Regions from separate parts of the Homo sapiens genome. Here region 2 is linked to region 1. Evidence: promoter capture Hi-C in 16 types of primary human blood cells and fetal thymus (Javierre and others, 2016). All regions are on one chromosome and are shown on one strand. The core of a region is centred on a gene start or on the middle of the fragment in contact, and the rest is flanking DNA. Distances in the headings are between cores, read along the strand shown. Region 1 holds the start of PSMC5 (proteasome 26S subunit, ATPase 5). Region 2 overlaps STRADA (STE20 related adaptor alpha).

The links. The method cuts DNA at HindIII sites, captures the fragments that hold promoters and counts their contacts. A CHiCAGO score of 5 or more calls a contact.
Region 2: a fragment that was not itself captured here is called in contact with the fragment with the promoter of PSMC5 in region 1 in 3 of 17 cell types (endothelial precursors, erythroblasts and naive CD4 T cells); the score reaches 5.7 in endothelial precursors.

The regions. Positions count from the first base shown.
Region 1 is chr17:63,824,833-63,829,107 of GRCh38, reverse strand. PSMC5 (proteasome 26S subunit, ATPase 5) reads right to left here and starts at 1,677. Exons shown (of 12, transcript NM_002805.6): 1 at 1,594-1,677; 2 at 899-970. The coding sequence starts at 1,617. FTSJ3 (FtsJ RNA 2'-O-methyltransferase 3) reads left to right here and starts at 1,445. Exons shown (of 21, transcript NM_017647.4): 1 at 1,445-2,056; 2 at 2,180-2,272; 3 at 2,436-2,541; 4 at 2,804-2,850; 5 at 2,973-3,052; 6 at 3,473-3,572; 7 at 3,672-3,866; 8 at 3,945-4,060; 9 at 4,179-4,275. The coding sequence starts at 2,206. RefSeq lists enhancers at 1,287-1,336, 1,717-1,996, 1,133-2,332. The HindIII fragment of the contact is 8,506 bases long and covers 1-4,158 here.
Region 2 is chr17:63,718,497-63,722,545 of GRCh38, reverse strand. The region is part of intron 4 of STRADA (STE20 related adaptor alpha); the gene reads left to right. Among named protein-coding and RNA genes, the nearest start is that of LIMD2, 20 kb to the right of the region's middle. The HindIII fragment of the contact is 2,715 bases long and covers 1-2,712 here.

The DNA of each region.
Region 1 (4,275 bases), core at 428-2,927:
CTATTTTTAAAAATCTAGATCTGTTACCAAACGGCACATGGGTATAGCATCAGCTACCCTGCTTCAAGACTACTAAGGTGAACGAATAAAAACACATGAAAAAGCATTCAAAAATGGTAAACTAAACATAATACCTGCAAATGCACTTGGAATTCAGAATTGTCTTTTGTGGCTTTCCCCCATCCAATTTATATTACAGTTGACACTTGAACAACGCAGGGGGTTAGGGTGAAATTGAAAATCCATGGACCTGTCCAAAGTTAAACTACTAACAGCCTACCGTAACAGTATAACGTAACACTAACAGACTACTGTTTATGTTGTCTGTAAGGCTTACTACTGGAAGCCATACCTTACTGCTGGAAGCCTTACTGGTAACACAAACATTTGATTAACAACATAAACGGTCCTTTTTCTATGGTTTAGCGCTTTAGGCTAGGGCTCTGGGTTGCCCAATTTCTTTCATTCAGTCTCTATGGAATTAGCATTGTCCAGATCCCTCAATGATGCCCTTCCTCACATTCTCACTTCACCCTCACCCAACCTCTTGGTGATAAATTTCAACTCCTGAGCTTATGTTTCCCTTTTATAAGAATCCTTTTCATTCGGGCTTCTTCCAAAAGGGTTGACCTTTGGCTAGAGGTACCTTTACTATTAAGATTTGACTCGAAGATGTGTAACAAACTGTGAACACTAAGACCCTCAAAGAGATGGGACTGGAGGAGAACAAGAGATTGCTTACTTCTGATACATACACCCTACTAGCTAAGAAACAAACAAGAAAGGAGAAGCAGCAGCTTCTTCCACTGCACTCCCAAAGGAATTAGATGGATTTGTGGAAGTCCGTTTCCATCCCCCATCATCACCCTTCCTAGCTCCCTCTGGAGTCCGTCCTCACCTGGAGTTCTTCAATCTTGGACAGATAATATTGGCGGAGTCCGCTGCCTGCCTTCCCCTCCTCCAGCTCCATCTGAAGACACAGAGTGAGTCTTAAACGACAGGTTAAACATCCGAGGGGGTAAAGCCACTTGCAGGGCACTTTGAATAAGGCTTGACACCAGGTAGCTTTGCGTAGTAGAAAAAGTTTGGACTTCGGAGGCTCAGGATCTGGGTTCTAATCCCTCCCTCCCTTGGAACCCTCCATTTTCCCAGGACTAAAATAAAAGAATGGGAACGCCGCCTACCTCATACGACTTTTAGGAGGACCGAGAGGCGATATGATATAGACGGGGGGCGCTTTGCACTGCGTGAAGTGCTCTACAAGCCCGAGGTGTCAGTACTGACGAAGGAGCCAGCGGAACGGAGCCAAAGGACTGGCGTCCCGTCTCCTGCGACCCGTGGGCCGGCCATTCCCGCGCCCATCGCTTCCCTCACTCACTCCGCTTCTACCGCGTCTTCCTCTCCCAGCCTTGCCCTGACTCACCGAGGGCGGCGCTGACACAGCAGATCCGGTCGCAGGCAGCGTCCAGCATGGACTGGTCCAGGCACCTCCGACCCACCCGACGCTCCTGCCCCGGCCCGCTCTCCACTCAGATCACGCTCGCTCCGCACCCAGCCCCGTAACCTGCCGGGCCGCCACTGCACCCGCCATACCTGCTCTGGTCCGTCAAGCGCCATCTTCTCTCTTCAGCAGAGACCGCCGGCATCCGAGCCGTCTTGGCGCGCAAGCGCGGAAGCGGAGGATTGGGACCTGAAGACCAGGCAGAGAAGAATTCCGGGTCAATGGGCGGGGTGTGCGGCGAGACCACACTAAGGGAACCATGATGGGAGGGGCGGCTACTCGAGTTCAGGGGCTTTGGAAGGGGATGAGGAAGGAGTAGAACTCCTCCTCAGTGTTGCCTCATTGAAACTCTGTTTATAGTTCTTGTGATATGCCTTCCTAGTCTCAACTTTCAACTTACAAAACCCAAGGACAGAGTATTGAGAACAATCTAGGGCCACACTCAAAATGGCGGAAAACCTCGAGCCAGGGACGCAGGGGACGCAAGCGGAAGCGGAAGTAGTTAGCTGCATACTTGTGCGGTTCCAAGTGTGGAGAAAGCGGCTCTGGGTCTAGGTAGTGTGCGGAGAGGGGCGCGGGGTGGAATTGCTGCGGGAAGTGGGAAACTGGAAGTGGGAAACTGGAAGTGGAATCTGGTGCTCCGGAAAGAGACGTTCCCAACTTCTACTTTCTCCCCAGATTGAGGGATACTCCCCCTTTCCACCATGGGCAAGAAGGGCAAAGTTGGCAAGAGCCGACGAGACAAGTTTTATCACTTGGCGAAGGAGACGGGTGAGTCCGGATTCGCTCAGTCTGCGAGCGAGCGAGCGATCTCTGCCCGGTTCGCCTGCTCTTTGCGACCATTATGTACCTCTCCTGCAGAAGGGGTGGTCGGTTGCGAGGCCGGAGAAATCCTACTAGTGAAGCAGTTTGCGCACTTGGTTGTTTTGTCCAGGTTACCGTTCCCGATCTGCTTTCAAGCTGATCCAGCTCAATCGCCGCTTTCAGTTCCTGCAGAAAGCCCGAGCCTTGCTGGACCTGTGTGCTGCGCCAGGGGGATGGTTCGTAACACTCGCCACAGGTTGCTCCTGGTGGCCGCTTTCTGGGTTCTGAGCTGGGATGGCTTCCAGTTTCACTGCGGGAGGGGAACCCGAATCCCGGTCCTCTTGGGGGCCGTTTCCTTTCTTGATTGCAGAGAAAGGGCTTGGAATACGTGCCTATGATATGCTTTGGCCAGTACACGTAACACCAGGGATGAGAGATCAGTTGCCAAGAGGGGGAAAAGGATGGCTCTAGGTTTTTAAATTTCTGTTCCTTTTATAGGCTGCAGGTAGCTGCCAAGTTTATGCCTGTATCCAGCCTTATTGTGGGTGAGTAACGGACAGCTCTCCTTGGTGTTTTAAGGGGTGGGTGTATAAGGTATTTTGTCCTGTATTTCTCTCCTCCCTGCTTGAAGCAACCTTTTAGAATACTCTGACCTGATTTCTTCCAGGAGTGGACCTGGTTCCAATCAAGCCTCTCCCCAATGTGGTGACTCTCCAGCAGGACATCACAACAGAACGTTGTAGGCAGGTAATAGGAGTCTCTCTCTTCCTTCCCCCTTTATACGGAAACATCTACATCCCTGAAATCCTCTAAAGGCAAGTTTTTCCTTTTTACCGTGCTTTGAGCACGTTCTTGCCTGACATCTGTACGACAAGACCTATGGCATTCGTAGTGTCCACTCCAGGCTTTATTTAGAGTCAGGGATAAAGGTGTTTGGAATTGGGAGAAGGGCAGAGATCTTTAGTGAAGTCTTCTCCTGTGAATTCAGTGTCAGACTGTAATCTCCATGAAGGTAGAGACATACTGTTTTTGTTTACTATTGTATCTCCTGTGCCTGGTACTGCATTTGGCCCATGATGGGCACTCAGCAAATGACTAGATGGACAAATGGCTGAACCAGGGCCATTCCAGTGTTTCTGTTTCCATAGTTCCTTTTCTTCTCTTTAGGCCCTGAGGAAGGAGCTGAAGACCTGGAAGGTTGATGTTGTGCTCAATGATGGGGCCCCCAACGTTGGGGCTAGCTGGGTCCATGATGCTTACTCACAAGGTACAGGGAGTGTGGTGCTTGGAGATCAGGTGATGGTGGAGGTGGGCGCATGCCCTCCTGGGCTGCAGAGTGCGTCAACTAATTGTCTCTATCCTACAGCCCATTTGACACTGATGGCTCTACGTTTGGCTTGTGACTTTTTGGCCCGTGGTGGCAGCTTCATCACAAAGGTTTTCCGTTCTCGTGACTATCAGCCTCTGCTATGGATCTTTCAGCAGCTGTTCCGCCGTGTCCAGGCCACCAAGCCCCAAGCCTCTCGCCATGAATCTGCAGAGATCTTTGTAGTCTGCCAAGGTGGGCATCATTTCCTTTCTCTTGATCCAGGCTCCCAACTCCCAAAGCACACTTTTTAATATATCCTGTCATTTTTAGGATTCCTGGCCCCTGACAAGGTTGACAGTAAATTCTTTGACCCCAAATTTGCCTTTAAGGAGGTTGAAGTTCAGGCTAAGACCGTTACTGAATTGGTTACTAAGAAGAAGCCAAAGGTGTGTTTTGGGGAATGGGGTCACTCTTGGGTCCTGGAACTCTAGGGAGGTTGGGCCTGGTGGGTCCTACAGGTACCTTAGAAGGGCCTGACCAAGCTTCTCTCTTTTCCTTCCTAAGGCTGAAGGCTATGCTGAGGGTGACCTCACTCTCTATCACCGTACCTCAGTCACTGACTTCCTCCGAGCTGCCAACCCTGTTGACTTCCTCTCCAAGG
Region 2 (4,049 bases), core at 106-2,605, 110 kb after region 1:
GCTGTGCTTATGTCATCTGCTAATCAGGAGCACCTCTCTATCAGATCCAAATGCTTTCCAATCTGAAGACCAAAAACGTTCCCTATAGGCTCAGTTAGCTATTTTTCTAGAATACGATGCCAATTACATAGGATTTTTATATTTTTACAGCTGCTGATGTTATATCAAAAGTTATCCTGTGTGAAACCTGTGGGAAGTTGAATGTGTTTATTTGGTAGCATTTTGTGAATATTGTCTTTGTGTGCTTTACTGTATTTTGTTTTAAACTCTTTAAACACAGTTATTTTATGGTCATTTCTGGATATCAGCTGCTTATTTATTTTTCAGATGCTTCAAAATGAATAAAATGCATTTCATGGTGGGGGAAACTAAGAAAACACTTTGACAGAATTAGTTCCTTTCTATGAGCAATTGGAGATTATTACATTGCACTAATTAAACTATGCCATGCTGCATTTAAAGAGAATGGGCTAAATAGTTCATTCTTTTTATCTGAGTTTAGACCTGTTCTAAAACTGAAACAGTGTGATGAACTAACCTGCGTTTCTTGTGGCAATGTCAGATGATCTAGACTTCTTCCTTTCAAAATATTGCCTGTTTCCTTGTTTGTTTGTTTGTTTTCCTAAATGAAGTTTGGTCTCTCTTTGAGTTCGGACCTATACAATATCCACAAAGTAGAAGGCCTCCATTTTAGAATCATTCCTAGTAAGCTGGGGACAGAGCAGTTGCTATCACTGGACTAGTTCATTTTATGCAATTCCAGATTGCCTGTGAGCTCATATTGCCAGTTTCATAAAGAACTTTATTTTCTTTCTTTCTTTTTTTTTTTTTTGAGACCGAATCTCACTCTGTTGCCCAGGCTGGAGTGCAGTGGTGCGATCTCGGCTTACTGCAACCTCTGCCTCCTGGGTTCAAGCAATTCTCCTGCCTCAACCTCCCGAGTAGCTGGGATTACAGGCCTGTGCCATCACACCCAGCTAATTTTTATATTTTTAGTAGAGACAGGGTTTCACTATGTTGGCTGGTCTCGAACCCCTGACCTCAAGTGATCTACCCTACTCAGCCTCCCAAAGTCCTGGTATTACAGGCGTGAGCCACCGTGCCCAGTCAAGAACTTTTTTTTTTTTTTTTGAGATGGAGCTTCACTTTATTTTTTTTTATTTTATTTTTTCTTGAGACGGTGTCTCACTCTGTCACCCAGGCTGGAGTGCAATGGCATGATCTCGGCTCACTGCAACCTCCACCTCTCGGGTTCAAGCGATTCTCCTGCCTCAGCCTCCCGAGTAGCTGGGACTACAGGCACCCGCCACCACGCCCAGCTAATTTTTATACTTTTAATAGAGACGGAGTTTCACCATGTTGTCCAGGATGGTCTCGTTCTCTTGACCTTGTGATCCGCCTGCCTCGGCCTTCCAAAGTGCTGGGATTACAGGCGTGAGCCACCACGCCCAGCCGGAGCTTCACTTTTGTTGCCCAGGCTGGAGTGCAATGGTGCAATCTCAGCTCACTGCAACGTCTGCCACCTGGGTTCAAGCGATTCTCCTTCCTCAGCCTCCCAAGTAGCTGGGATTACAGACATGTGCCACCACACCCAGCTAATTTTTTGTATTCAGTAGAGACAGGGTTTCACCATGTTGGTCAGGCTGGACTCGAACTCCTGACCTCAGATGATCCACCTGTCTCAGCCTCCCAAAGTGCTGGGATTACAGGCGTGAGCCACCATGCCTGGCCAAGAACTTTATTTTCTTTTTTTACTTTTTTTTTTTTTTTTTTTAAACAGTCTCGCTCTGTCGCCCAGGCTGGAGTGCAGTGGCGCGATCTCAGCTCACTGCAAGCTCTGCCTCCCCGGGTTCACGGCATTCTCCTGCCTCAGCCTCCCGAGTAGCTGGGACTGCAGGTGCCCGCTGCCATGCCCAGCTAATTTTTTGTAGTTTTAGTAGAGACAGGGTTTCACTGTGTTGGCCAGGATGGTCTCAATCTCCTGACCTTGTGATCCGCCTGCCTCGGCCTTCCAAAGTGCTGGGATTACAGGTGTGAGCCACCTCGCCCAGCCCCCAGAACTTTATTTTCTAAAGGCCAGGTGTGGTGGCTCACACCTGTAAACCCAGCACTTTGGGAGGCTGAGGCAGGAGGATGACTTGAGGCCAGGAATTTGAAGCCAGCCTGGGCAACATAGTGAGACCCCATCTCTAAAAACAAAAAAACTAGCCAGGCATGGTAGCGCACACTGGTAGTCCTAGCTACCCAGGAAGATGAGGCAGAAAAATCCCTTAAGCCCAGGAGTTCAAGGCTGCAGTGAGCTAGGATAGCGCCATTGCACTCCAGCTTGGGAGACAGAGTGAGACTCTGTCCCTAATTAAAAAAAAAAAAAATTAGCTTGGCATGGTGGCATATACCTGGGAGGCTGAGGTGGGAGGATCCGCTTGAGCCCTGGAGTTCGAGGCTGTAGTGAACTATGATCATGCCACTGTACTCCAGCCTGGGTGACAGAGTGAGACCCTGTCTCAAAAAAAAAAAAGAAAAAGAATTTTATTTTCTAAAACTAATACTTTTGGGTTAGTTTTGGTAGTTTTCTGTAATACTGGAGAGTAGAAATAAATATTGTCAAGTTACTAACTAAGCACATTGATAGTTTAATGAATCATTCCCTACCTAGGCTTAGCAAGAATGTGTCTTAGTGTATAGCCTAGTAGACAATATGTCTTATAAGCTTATATGCACGCCTGACAAGGAAGAGGGACATAGGTAATGAAGTATCTATCTGCCGGGCGCCATGGCTCACGCCTGTAACCCCAGCACTTTGGGAGGCCGAGGTGCGCGCATCACCTGAGGTCAGGAGTTTGAAACCAGCCTGGCCAACACAATGAAACCCCATCTCTACTAAAAATGCAAAAATTAGCCGGGCATGGTAGCACGCACCTGTAATCCCAGCTACCCAGGAGGCTGGGGCAGGAGAATCACTTGAACCTGGGAGGTGGAGGTTGCAGTGAGCCGAGATCGCGCCATTGCACTCCAGCCTGGGCGATAGAGCGAGACTCTGTCTCAAAAAAAAAAAAAAAGTAGTATCTATCTGTGGTTTCTCCAAAGGGAGTTATTTAAAGTACATAAAATGAATATTTGAATCTCAGGACTCAGCTGTCTTTCATAGTCTCTTTTTCAAGTGAGAGAAATTTTAAGGAGTTTGCTTAGAGAGCAGATGCACGAAGACCTTCAGATACAAAGTAGTTGCCTCTCATTGAGGCCATATTGTTACCTACTGAAAAATGCAGTACTTTCTCACATGCAGGAATCAGATTCTGGTCTATAGAGTGTTCTGAGTAACACAGGAATCTAACGACTGTGTCATTATGAGGCTGGCATTTCCAGCATAGGTCATCATGCTGAACCCGTTACCAAAGGAACTGGCTGCATTGACCTATTCTCTTCTTTAGCCCGTGGGAATGAAAAGATCATGGGCAGAAAGCCTCAGTTCAAACTTTGCTTAAATCATTTTCATTTTTTAAGCATTTGCCAGCGGTGTTCCAGGCACTGGGGGAATACATCAGTGAACATGACAGACAAGGTCCCTGCCTTTCTGGTGCTTGCATTTTAATGGAAGAAACTTTAGTGGAAGATTTTAGAGAAATAAGCTGCAATGGTAACTTCTGTGAAGAAAGGAAAGCAAGGCTGTCTGATAACGTGACCAGGAGCCTAGTTTACTTTGGCTGGGCAGTCTCTCTGAAAAGGACATTTAAGTTGAGACATCAGTGATGTTGAGGAGGTAGCCATGAGAAAAATAGCAGGGTCAAGGGAAGGAGGAGGCTAGGAGGGTTCCAAAGGGACAGTTAGTGCAAGTTTCCTGAGACTGGAACACACTTGTTTATGTGGGAATATTGTTCAAGTCAGGCGAGCGTGGTGTGGAATGAGATCACAGAGGTAGGCAAGGGCCAAATCATTTGTATACTCATAGGCTGGGGTGGGGAGTTTGGGTCTGAAAGCAACCCACTGAGCTTTCTATTAACTGTTAACATTGATTTTATTAAGGAATAGATTAATACTTAAGAAAACAG